Regions from separate parts of the Homo sapiens genome. Here region 2 is linked to region 1. Evidence: promoter capture Hi-C in 16 types of primary human blood cells and fetal thymus (Javierre and others, 2016). All regions are on one chromosome and are shown on one strand. The core of a region is centred on a gene start or on the middle of the fragment in contact, and the rest is flanking DNA. Distances in the headings are between cores, read along the strand shown.

Region 1 (5,711 bases), core at 1,036-3,535:
GGCGGATCACGAGGTCAGGAGATCGAGACCATCCCAGATAACACGGTGAAACCCCGTCTCTACTAAAAATACAAAAAATTAGCCAGGCGTGGTGGCAGGCGCCTGTGGTCCCAGCTACTTGGGAGGCTGAGGCACGAGAATGGTGTGAACCTGGGAGGCAGAGCTTGCAGTGAGCCAACATCACGCCACTGCACTCCAGCCTGGGTGACAGAGCGAGACTCCGTCTCAAAAAAAAAAAAAACATCAGTCATTATTTCATACTCACTGAATCAGAGAGAGATCTGTTCTATTCAGTAAGAAATAAGACTTTTCTAAAATCTTTCAATTTTCCGTTCTATTTCTAAATGCCAAAAAAAGATAAGACTCACATTTATTTTTATTTTTTCTTTTTCTTTTTTTTGCTCCTGCCTAAAAAGTAAGGACTCACATTTTTGATGATGCATTTGTTTTTACAAGAATATTGAGCTTCCAAGTAAAACCTTTGTGAAATCAGAGCATAAGCTATTAAGGTCACTAAAATAAATATAAAATACCTTTTAATTATAAACACTACGATTAAAACGTATGTGGAGAGAACCCCAAAAAAATTTTAAGACATGTAAAAAAGGCAAAAAGAAATCAATCATGTGTTTCTAACGGTTAATCACTATCTTGTAAAAAGAATCCCAAAAATTATCAATAGAAATTCACAATATTTGAAGAACACTCAAAGGTATTTTCGCTCTGTAGATCTCCAGATACCACTGTCTACTGATTGAGGGACTCCAACTTGATCCAGCAATCAAGCTACGTAGACGAACAGAAACAGAATTAAAGCAATTAAGTGAGTCAATTCAACTCACCACACTTCGGTTTTTGTGTGTACCTAATAAAAATGTTGCAACAGAAGAAGTAATGTGGCGTTAAACCAATCAGAGTTTGGGAAGAGTAGTAATTAGCATAAGAAACTGAAAATTAATTAAGTGGCTTTTAGGGCCAGGCGCGGTGGCTCACGCCTGTAATCCTAGCACTTTGGGAGGCTGAGGTGAGTGGATCATTTGAGGACAGGAGTTCAAGACCAGCCAGGCCAACATGATGAAACCCCGCCTCTACTAAAAATACAAAAATTAGCCGGGCCTGGTGACAGGCGCTTGTAGTCCCAGCTACTCGGGAGGCTGAGACAGGAGAATCGCTTGAACCCGGGAGGTGGAGGTTGCAGTGAGCCAAGATCGTGCCTGGGAGATCTGCACTCCAACCTGGGCAACACAGCGAGACTGTCTCAAAATAATAATAATAATAATAATAATAAGTGGCTTTTTTTTTCTTTTTGAGAAATGATCTTGCTCTGTTGCCAGGGATGGAGCGCAGTGGTATGATCTACTCACCGCAGCCTTGAACTCCTAGGCTCAAGCAATCCTCCCACCTCAGCCTCCCCAGTAGCTGGGACTACATGTCGGTGCCACTACATCCAGCTCATTTTCTTATTTCTGTAGAGATGGGGCCTCACTATGTTTTGCCCAGGCTGGTCTGCAACTCCTCGCCCCATGTGAATCTCCAGCCTCCGTCTCCCAAACTGCTAGGATTACAGGCGTGAGACACCGCGCCAGGCCCAAGTGGCATCATAAACCATCTCTAGGAAATCTAAAGGATTAATAATGATATTCACTTCTCTATCAGATTCACTGCAAAGATTTTTCTATATAAGCATAATGCAGCAACACTAACTTATATACACAATAATCTTCTCCATAGCAATGATTTGTCAGACATTAGGAAATCCTTTACATATTTAATATAATAATCCAATCCTTTATATCTTCAATAATCCAATCACAAAGTTCAAAAATATTAAGAGAAGTTATCATGCAACTCCTCACCCCAATTTTATTGCAAATTTTACTTTACTTTGACCTGATGTTCCATGCCCACAAGCTAGATAACAATGCGTCAAATATCTCGTTATCATTGCAAAGCAAAAAAATAAAACTTGCTTTAATATAAAACGGTAACTAGTATACAACCTGTAGTAGTTAAAACAATATAAAATTTTACTTAACCAGATATTGCACGTTAAACTCTAGGAACATTAACAGTGGAAACATTCTCCGCATCTAACAAATTACGAGATAAAGTATAGATCCGTTGAGAGGGAACTAACATTCTGACCTCCTTCCAAAACGACAAACTAGAACGGCAAAATTACACTCAGGCACATTGGAGTACTCTTCTCTCAAATCACTCCACAGAGAACTTCATCATTTGCTCCGCCCTCTAATAACTCATGCAAGAAAAGTTCAGCACCATCAGAGAGAAACAAGACAGAGAGAATTCATAGAATGGCTTTAGGGCCTTTCCTCCAGGCGGTAAGAGGATCTGCGTGTGTCCTTCGCAGGGGTCCAAAGGGAGAGAACCTAGGCCTAGGGTTTCGGGGATACCGACACCCAGAAACAGATTTTCTCTCAAAGAAGTTTCTGCCGCCATCCCTATCTTATCAGCAGGAGGCCCCGGCGCCATCGTCTCCGTCTTTATGATTTTATTATGGGGAGGTGGGAAACGCCACCCTGGATTCTTCCAGGCCTCCCCTATTCAGCTTGGGGGTTCCCCCTCATTCTTCCCTCAAAGCCTCAGTCCCTGAGGTCCTCCTCAGCACCCCCCGCTTCTGGCGGCCTGTCCCCCGTGAAGTGTAAAGGCACGGCCGAACCCACCGGCCTTGCCGTGAAGGCGGGAGGGCCCGAACCCGCCAGGGCCACGGCGATGGCTCCGAGGGGCCCAGAAAGGGGAAGGGCAGGCCGGGGACCGGGGCAGAATGACCTGGCCGGGGAAGAAAGGAAAAAAGGAGGTGAGGAGATGCACCGCACCGCAGGGCTGCACAGAGAAGGGAAGATGATGAAGGAGGAGGAGGAGGGCGGTGGCCCGGGTGCGGCCCCCTACTCCTCCCGCCCCCGGGTCCCCGGGCCGGCGGGGGCGGACGGACTCGGCCCATTCCCAGGTCTGGGCTGGCGGGGGGTTGGGGGATCTCCCTCCACGCTACTAGGAGACAGAGAACGAGGGTATCGGGAGCGGGGGGGGGCTGTCTCCCGCCTGAACCCGGAGACCCCGACGCCGTCGTCGCCTCTTCCTCAGGAGGGAGGACGGCAGCTGTGGGTAAAGCCCGAAGGAGGAATGCCTGAAGGTAAGGGGAAGCCCGGGGCAGACCCGCTGCCCGCTCCGGACCCCACTCTCCACCTTCCGGTAACCGCGTCTCTTACCGGTAATGGTGGTGAACTGTTGAATTAACCCCTTCAGCGCCGAGGACGCCGCGGAGCCCCCGTGGGCAGCCATCTTACCGCCGCCGCCGCCGCCGAACAACAACACAGACACACACGGACTGCCCTCCCCCACTTCGCCGTGCGGTGTGCGCAGGCGCATTGACCGCCCCTCGAGCCCCGCCCCTCCCGTCCCCAGCGGTCTGCGCAGGCGCATTTTCCGACCGGGCCCGCGCGCTCCCAGCTCTCGGGTTGGCTGCTCGGTTGCTGCCTGCTCAGTGCATCCTTTTTGCCATTGCTGGTGCCTTCCTCTCCGGGCTCCAAGGCTAGCCTCGCAGGCGCGGTGTCGATTCCTAGATTCCGAAGGAAGCTTCGGTCTCGGCAGATAGTTCTTCGCATTTCAGCTTCGCAAGCTTTATTGACAGAGCCAACTGCCGATGACAGCATTTTTCTGTTTTGCGGTTGTACCGCACTCTATTAGGTTTCCTGCAGGTCCCATCAAAATGCAAACCCTACCTCCTCGCTTTGAAGCGACTCTCCCCGTACTCGCCCCCCAGCCTCTAAACTAATGGCTTAGCTAACCGATTGCGACGAGTGAAATACCAGAACCCTTCATGCCAAAGAAAGCACTTAGCGCGGGGTTGCCACCCAGTAGGTTTTCATAAACGATTGTTTAGTCTGCTTTCCTTAAATAAATTGGCCATCACGTCTCCCGTTAGGGTCTTAATGAGACCCCAAGAGGCGTCATTTGTATAAAAAGAAACTCTGTATATGCAGTAGAGGAAAGAAAACATATAGAAAGGAGACTGGAAAAGTGTGCTCAAAACGCTGGTAACGGTTACCTCCAGAGAAGAGAACGATCGGGACGATGGTCAAAGCGGACCTTACTTCGAGTTTCTTATTTATCTTTTTATTTTTAAACAAACATTATTGGCCGGGCGCGGTGGCTCATGACTGTAATCCCAGCACTTTGGAAGGCCGAGGTGGGAGAATCGCTTGAGGCAAGGAGTTCGAGACCAGACTGGGAAATATATCAAGAATCCATCTCAAAAAAAAAAAAAAAAAAAAGATATTCGTGTGTTCCTTGAATAATTTTAAGTATTTTGCAAAACAGTTACATGAGTGGGGTGCGCTCAAATCCAATAATCCCCCACCTTGCCCATAAAGTTAAAAGAGATTCCAAGTGATTCCGTTTGTTTTAGCCTCCCACCTTCCAACCTCCACCCACATATTTTGCATCTTCATAGGAAAATGGCCCAATAAAAGATGGGATGAGCTGTCTGAAGAATTGACACATCCTAAGAGTAAACATGCTATTGGGGAGAATTAAGAAAGAGCCATGTCAAATCAAGGGGTATAGTTTTTTGTTTTGTTTTGTTTGACAGGGAGTCTCGCTCTGTCGCCCAGGCTGGAGTGCAGTGGTGCAATCTCAGTTTACTGAAAGCTCCGCCTCCCGGGTTCAAGCGATTCTCCTGCCTCAGCCTCCCAAGTAGCTGGGATTACAGGCACACGCCACCACGCCTGGCTAATTTTTGTATTTTTAATAGAGACGAGGTTTCACCATGTTGAGCAGGCTAGTCTCAAACTACTGACCTCAAGTGATCCACCCGCCTCGGCCTCCCAAAGTGTTGGGATTACAGGCGTGAGCCACCACACCCAGTCGGGCTGTAGTTTCAAGAAGATATGATTGATGTAAAAGAAAGCAGACTCCAGTAATCCCAGCACTTTGGGAGGCCGAGGCGGGCGGATCGCCCGAGGTCAGGAGTTCCAGACCAGCCTGGTCAACATGGCGAAACCCCATCTCTACTAAAAATACAAAAATTAGCTGCTGTGGTGGCGCGGGCACCTGTAATCCCAGCTACTTGGGAGGCTGAGGCAGGAGAATCACTTGAACCCGGGAGGCAGAGGTTGCAGTGAGCCGAGATCATGCCACTGTGCTCCAGCCTGGGTGACAGAGCAAGACTCCGTCTCAAAAAAAAAAATGTATTTTAAGTTAAATGACAGATTGGTCCTGGCACTGCCTTCCAGGTTGCTGCAGTTCTCTAGATGGGCTGAGGAAGGGCAGGGATCAGTCATAAATTTCGGCAGCTGATTCCTTCACATTTGATGCAGAGGTGCAAAAACAGGCAAGGGAAGAAAGCCAAATCAAGAAAGTGTTACCTCTGTCTCCCTTCATCCTAAAGGCTGAGTCACTAGCCAGCCATGCAAAATCAAGCTCCACGTAAAATGGTATAACACCATTAACTACAAAAACTAAACACAGTGATTACTGTACCTCCATCAGATGGAGAGGCCAGTAATGAGCTCTGCAGGTTTATCAGGTTTATTTCCAAAATCTTATAATTCAGATTTAATGATATGATTTTGATTAACAGTGCAGGAAAAGGTGATAAAGTCTGTGGCATCCACAACTCCAGAAGGCATTTTTTTAGAAATTAAAAAATAAGATAAAAGAAAATTAGACAGGTGGCCAAAAAGATTCCATGG
Region 2 (5,915 bases), core at 2,804-5,303, 130 kb before region 1:
GCAACCTCTGCCTCCCCAGGCCAAGCACTTCTCATGTCTCAGCCTCCCGAGTAGCTGGGATAACAGGCATGCACCACCATGCCTGGCTAATTTTTTTTTTTCTTTTTTTTTTTTGAGATGGAGTTTCACTCTGTTGCCCAGGCTGGAGTGCAGTGGCACAATCTTGGCTCACTGCAACCACAACCTCCCGGGTTGAAGCAATTATCCTACCTCAGCCTCCCAAGTAGCTGGGACTACAGGCACCCACCACCACGCCCGGCTAATTTTTGTATTTTTAGTAGAGACGGGGTTTCACCATGTTGGGCAGGCTGGTCTCGAATTCTTGACCTCAAGTGATCCACCGGCCTCGGCCTCCCAAAGTGCTGGGATTACAGGCATGAGCCACTGTGCTTGGCCCTAATTTTTTGTATTTTTGGTAGAGACGGGGTTTCACCATATTGCCCAGGTTGGTCTCCAACTCCTGAGCTCAGGCAATCTGCCCGCCTTGGCCTTCGAAAGTGGTAGGATTACAGGAGTGAGCCACTGTGCCCAGCAGAGTCGGCAGTCTTAACAAAGCTAAGGAGGTAAAATCAGATTCTGGAGGGAAGATCCCATAAAAAAGGAGAAAGTAGAACTGAGCGTATCACATGGTAGGTTTTCTTTTCAAGACATGCTGAATTCAGGCCGGGCACAGTGGCTCGCGCCTGTAATCCCAGCACTTTGGGAGGCTGAGGCAGGCGGATCACGAGGTCAGGAGATCGAGACCATCCTGGCTAACGTGGTGAAACCCCGTCTCTACTAAAAATACAAAAAATTAGCCGGGTGTGGTGGCGGGCGCCTGTAGTCCCAGCTACTCGGGAGGCTGAGGCAGGAGAATGGCGTGAACCCAGGAGGCGGAGCTTGCAGTGAGCCGAGATGGCACCACTGCACTCCAGCCTGGGCAACAGAGTGAGACTCTTTCTCAAAAATAGAATAAAATAAAATAAAGTAACTAGTATGACTAAATCACAAGGGTCCTTACAAAAGAAAGAGGGAGTAGGTGGGTCAGAGTCAGAGAGTTGAAGATGCTGTGCTGCTGGCTTTGAAATTGGAGGAAACGGCTTATGGGCTAAGGAGTTCAGGGGCCTCTAACTGGAACAGACGAGGAAATGGATTCAGTCTTAGAGCCTCCAGAAGGAATGCAGCCCTGCTGACATCTTCATTTTAGTTCAATGAAACCCATTTTGGATTTCTGATCTCCAGAACTGTAAAGTAATATATTTGTGCCATTTTCAGCACTGAGTTTGTGATAATTTGTTACGGCAGCAACAGGAAACTAGTACACTAAGGAAAAAGCCTCTGACATGAAGAGCAAAGTTTTATGCTGAGGAGACAAGATCTGAAAGTCAGCACCTGTTGGAGGTAGAGGCCTGCAGAGGCCTAATGAACATTCGAGGTTCTTGGTTGAAAGACTTGGAGGGCTACAATTAAGAAACAAGGGGGCCAGGCACAGTGGCTCACGCCCATAATCCCAGCAGTTTGGGAGGCCAAAGTGGGTGGATCACCTGAGGTCAGGAGTTTGAGACCAGCCTGGCCAACATGGTGAAACCCCATCTCTACTGAAATACAGAAATTAGCCGGGCGTGGTGGCGTGCGTCTCTAATCCCGGTTACTCAGGAGGCTGAGGCAGGAGAATCACTTGAACCCGGGAGGCTGAGGTTGTGGTGAGCCAAGATCATGCCATTGCACTCCAGCCTGGGCAACAAGAATGAAACTCTGTCTCCAAAAAAAAAAAAAAAAAAAAAATAGAAACAAGGGTGAGGCTGGGTGTGGTGGCTCACACCTATAATCCTAGCACTTGGGCACTTGGGGAGGCCAAGGCAGGAGAATCACTTGAGCCAAGGACTTCAAGACCAGCCTGGGCAACATGGTGAAACCCCATCTCAACAAAAACATACAAAAATTAGTTGGGCGTGGTGGCTCATGCCTACGGTCCCAGCTACTTGGGAGGCTGAAGCAGGAGGATCACTTGAGCCCAGGAGCCAGAGGTTGCAGTGAGCTGAGATCGCACCACTGCACTCCAGCCTGGGCAACAGAGTTGAGACTCTGTCTCAAAAAAGAAAAAAAAAAGGGATGAATTTAAGATAGGGCCTTTTTAAAACCACAACTCTCAGATGAGTTGGCACAAGAAAAGAAAATTTTTTAAAAAGATAAAACTGTAACCCAACCTCAATTCAGCTCAGTACCTGAAGCTAAGCGGCCAATACTCTTCCTGCACAGCAGAAGAGAGAGTTAAGTCCTTTCTGGAAGAAAATAATATCATCTGGAGGTCTATAATTCTTTTAAGCAATATCTAAGATTCAAACTAGGCATGCCAAGAGACAAAGCCATATACATGATTATCAAGAAAAATACAATGGAAACAAACTCACACATGACCCAGATACCAGAGTAAGCATATAACAACATAAAAATAACTACTGTGGCTGGGCGCAGTGGCTCATGCCTGTAATCCCAACACTCTGGGAGGCTGAGCGGGGCAGATCACTTGAGATCAGGAGTTCCAGATAAGCCTGGTCAACATGGTGAAATCCTGTCACTACTAAAAATACAAAAACTAGGCGGGTGTGGTGGTGGGCACCAGTAATCCCAATTACTCGGGAGGCTGAGGCAGGAGAATTGCTTGAACCTGGAAGGTGGAGGCTGCAGTGAGCAGAGATGGCGCCACTGCACTCCAGCCTGGGTGACAGAGTGAGACTCTGTCTCAAAAATAAAATAAAATAAAATAATTAGTATGACTAAAATGTAAAAATAGAGTGGGGAGGGTTAAAAAAGATTGAAGGATAAAGCCTTTTACTAGATAACTGAAATCTATAAAAACTAAATGTAAATTCCCAAACTGAAAGATACAATAACTGAAATTAAGAACTCAGGTTATGGGTTTAACTGCAGATCAGATGCAACAGAAAAGAGGATGATTGACCTAAAAGGCCAATAGAAAAATATACAAATTGGCCAGGCACGGTGGCTCACGCCTGTAGTCTCTGCTACTTGGGAGGCTGAAGCACGAGAATCGCTTAAACCCAGGAGGTGAAGGTTGCGATGAGTCGAGATCACACCACTGCACTCCAGCCTGGGTGACAGAGCGAGACTCCGTCTGAAAAAAGAAAAAATATATAAACTGAAGCACAGAGAGGAAATAGAAAAATCAGAAAAAAGCATAAGAGACATGTGGAATACTGAGAAAAGACCAAACATACATGTAACCTAAATCCTAAAAAGAGAGCGGAGTGGAAGGGGCAGCAGCAGTGTTTTAAAAGAGAACGGCTACCTCTAGGGCCCCAAGCTTAGTTTCTAATGCCATTCTCCAACACATTGAACAGGGGCTCCTTGGAGAAATGGCTGAATTGTAGGGCTGGGGTAGGGAATGAACACAGTGGAGCTTCTGATAGTGCTGGAAAGTAAGGAAGTGCTCAAAGAAACCCACAATAGTAGAGTCAGTGGGACACAGGAATCCACTGAAAGCTCTCAATGGCCAAGCTGGAACAATTAGAACTACAAAATAAATAAAGTAGTATTGAATAATCATCCAAAGTATAAAATATCCATGAGTCCATGTTGAAATAAATGACAGAATACATAAATAAATGGGAGAGGAGAGACAAATTTCCTGTGCTGAAAATTCCAAAGAATTTACGCAGATACGATGCCCTTGAGGAGGTGGGTCATAACTCCCTGCTCTTTCAGTGTGGGCTGCACACGATGATTTCCTCCTAATGAGTACAGGATGAACACGGAGGAAATGAAACCGCCTTTGCAAAATGATGACTGAGACAGTGAAAGAGATCCAACCTAACCGACTCCATCTTGCGTCTAACCTCCAAGCTGCCCTTGTTCATTCCTGGGCGTAGGCTGAACTAACTTGGGGGGAAACTTAATTTATAGTTTAAAACAAAGACGGTAACAGCCCTTTCCCAAAGCAGACCTCCTTCTTGCCGGGGGACTAGACTAACATTAGTCACAAGATTAGAAATGATGGTTTAGGAGCCATGCAGCTGGAGGCTACAAGATTCTGACCCTCCCTACACTGCTCCTAAGATCAGCGCTTGAGATATTTTGCAGACCCTGCACTTGATGGATCAGCTGGCACCACCCAGATGGATAAACTGGCTCATCTGATCTTGTGGCCCCGACCCAGGAACTGACTCAGCACAAGAAGACAGCTGACTCCCTGTGATTCCATCCCTGATCAATCAGCACTCCCGGCTCACTGGCTCTCCACACCCACCAAGCTGTCCTTAAAAACTCTGCTCCCCGAATGCTGGGAGAGACTGATTTGAGTAATAATAAAACTCCGGTCTCCCGCACAGCCGGCTGTGCGTGAATTACTTTTTCTCTATGGCAATTCCCCTGTCATGATGAATCGGCTCTGTCTAGGCAGCGGGCAAGTGAACCCACTGAGCAGTTATAGAAAGAGTAAGTTTATAGTAAAGAAACCTGAGAAGCATTAGCTCAGGCAGGGAGGCAAAGTTCATATGAACAGTAACATGTCATGTTGACAGTATGTACCATTGATATGATATGACGAGAATGGCGTCTTACCTCTGTGATCTTCCTTCCAAAAACCTGTAACCTCAGACTAATCATTAGCAGAAAAATCCCAGTGAAGGAACATTCTACAAAACACCTAACCAGTACTCCTCAAAAAAGTCAAGGTGATGAAAAACAAGAAAGTCTGAGAAACTGTTACCGCCAAGAAGAGCCCAAAGAGACATTTAATGTGGTATCCTAGATAGAATCCTAAAGCAGAAAAAGGACATTAGGAACAAACTAGAAATCAGAACAAAGCTTTATTTGATAACACTGTATCAATATTGTTTCATTAATTATAATAAATGTTCCATACTATGTAGATGTTAACCATAGGGAGTCCGGGTGCGGTAGATGATGCCTGTAACCCCAGTGTTTTGGGAAGCCGAGGCAGGAGGACTGGTTAAGCCCAAGAGGTCAAAGCTGCAGTGAGCCACGGTTGCACCACTGCACTCCAGCGTGGGCGACAGAGCAAGAACTGTCTCAATAGCATAATTACTATTCTTACAGTAACAGGGAAACTGGGTGTGGAGTATACGCTAACTCTGCAACTTTTCTATAAATCTAAAACTATTTTAAAATAAAAACTTGGTTTTTTTATTTTTTTATTTTTTGAGATAGAGTTTCACTCTGTTCCCCAGGCTGGAGTGCAGTGGCGTGATCTCAGCTCACTGCAACCTCCACCTCCCAGGTTCAAGCAATTCTCCTGCCTCAGCCTCCAAGTGGCTGGGGTTACAGGTGTGCACCACCATGCCCGGCTAATTTTTTGTAATTTTAGTAGAGACAGGGTTTCGCCAGGTTGGCCAGGCTGGTCTCGAACTCCTGACCTCAAGTGATCCACCCACCTCGGTCCCCCAAAGGGCTGAGATTACAGGTGGGAGCCACTGCACCTGGCCAAAAACTGTTTTTTTTAAACAAAGGTAATGGCTAAGAATTTTCCCAAACTGATAAAAAAAATCAACCTGGCTGGGTGCAGTGGCTCACACTGGTAATCCCAGGACTTTAGAAGGCCGAGCATGGTGTTGGCACCTATACTCCCAGCTACTCGGGAGGCTGAGGCAGGAGAATCTCTTGAACCTGGGAGGCAGAGCTTGCAGTGAGCCAAGATCGCACCATTGCACTACAGCCTGGGAGACAAAAGCGAAACTCCATCTCAAAAAAAAAACAACAAAAAAATCAATCCATAGATTCAAGAGACTCTGAGTGCTCTAAGCAGAATAAATACAAAGAAAGTAATAGTGGCTAGAGAGGACATACCATCTTAAATTGAATAATAAAACTTACAGCTGACTTCTCAACAGAAACAATGGAAACTAGAAGACAAGGTAAGCACTTATCTACCTACCTACCTACCTACCTATCTGAGG

What was found. The method cuts DNA at HindIII sites, captures the fragments that hold promoters and counts their contacts. A CHiCAGO score of 5 or more calls a contact.
Region 2: a contact is called between a fragment that was not itself captured here and the fragment with the promoter of UBXN7-AS1 in region 1, in 1 of 17 cell types (megakaryocytes). The highest score is 5.0, in megakaryocytes.

The regions. Positions count from the first base shown.
Region 1 is chr3:196,429,100-196,434,810 of GRCh38, forward strand. UBXN7-AS1 (UBXN7 antisense RNA 1) reads left to right here and starts at 2,286. Exons shown (of 2, transcript NR_046745.1): 1 at 2,286-2,342; 2 at 3,103-3,935. UBXN7 (UBX domain protein 7) reads right to left here and starts at 3,328. Exons shown (of 11, transcript NM_015562.2): 1 at 3,228-3,328. The coding sequence starts at 3,300. RefSeq lists enhancers at 2,085-2,859, 2,436-2,485, 2,860-3,633, 3,566-3,645 and silencers at 3,196-3,255, 3,276-3,525. The HindIII fragment of the contact is 6,741 bases long and covers 1-3,592 here.
Region 2 is chr3:196,298,989-196,304,903 of GRCh38, forward strand. The region is part of intron 3 of DYNLT2B (dynein light chain Tctex-type 2B); the gene reads right to left. Among named protein-coding and RNA genes, the nearest start is that of PCYT1A, 14 kb to the left of the region's middle. The HindIII fragment of the contact is 1,502 bases long and covers 3,303-4,804 here.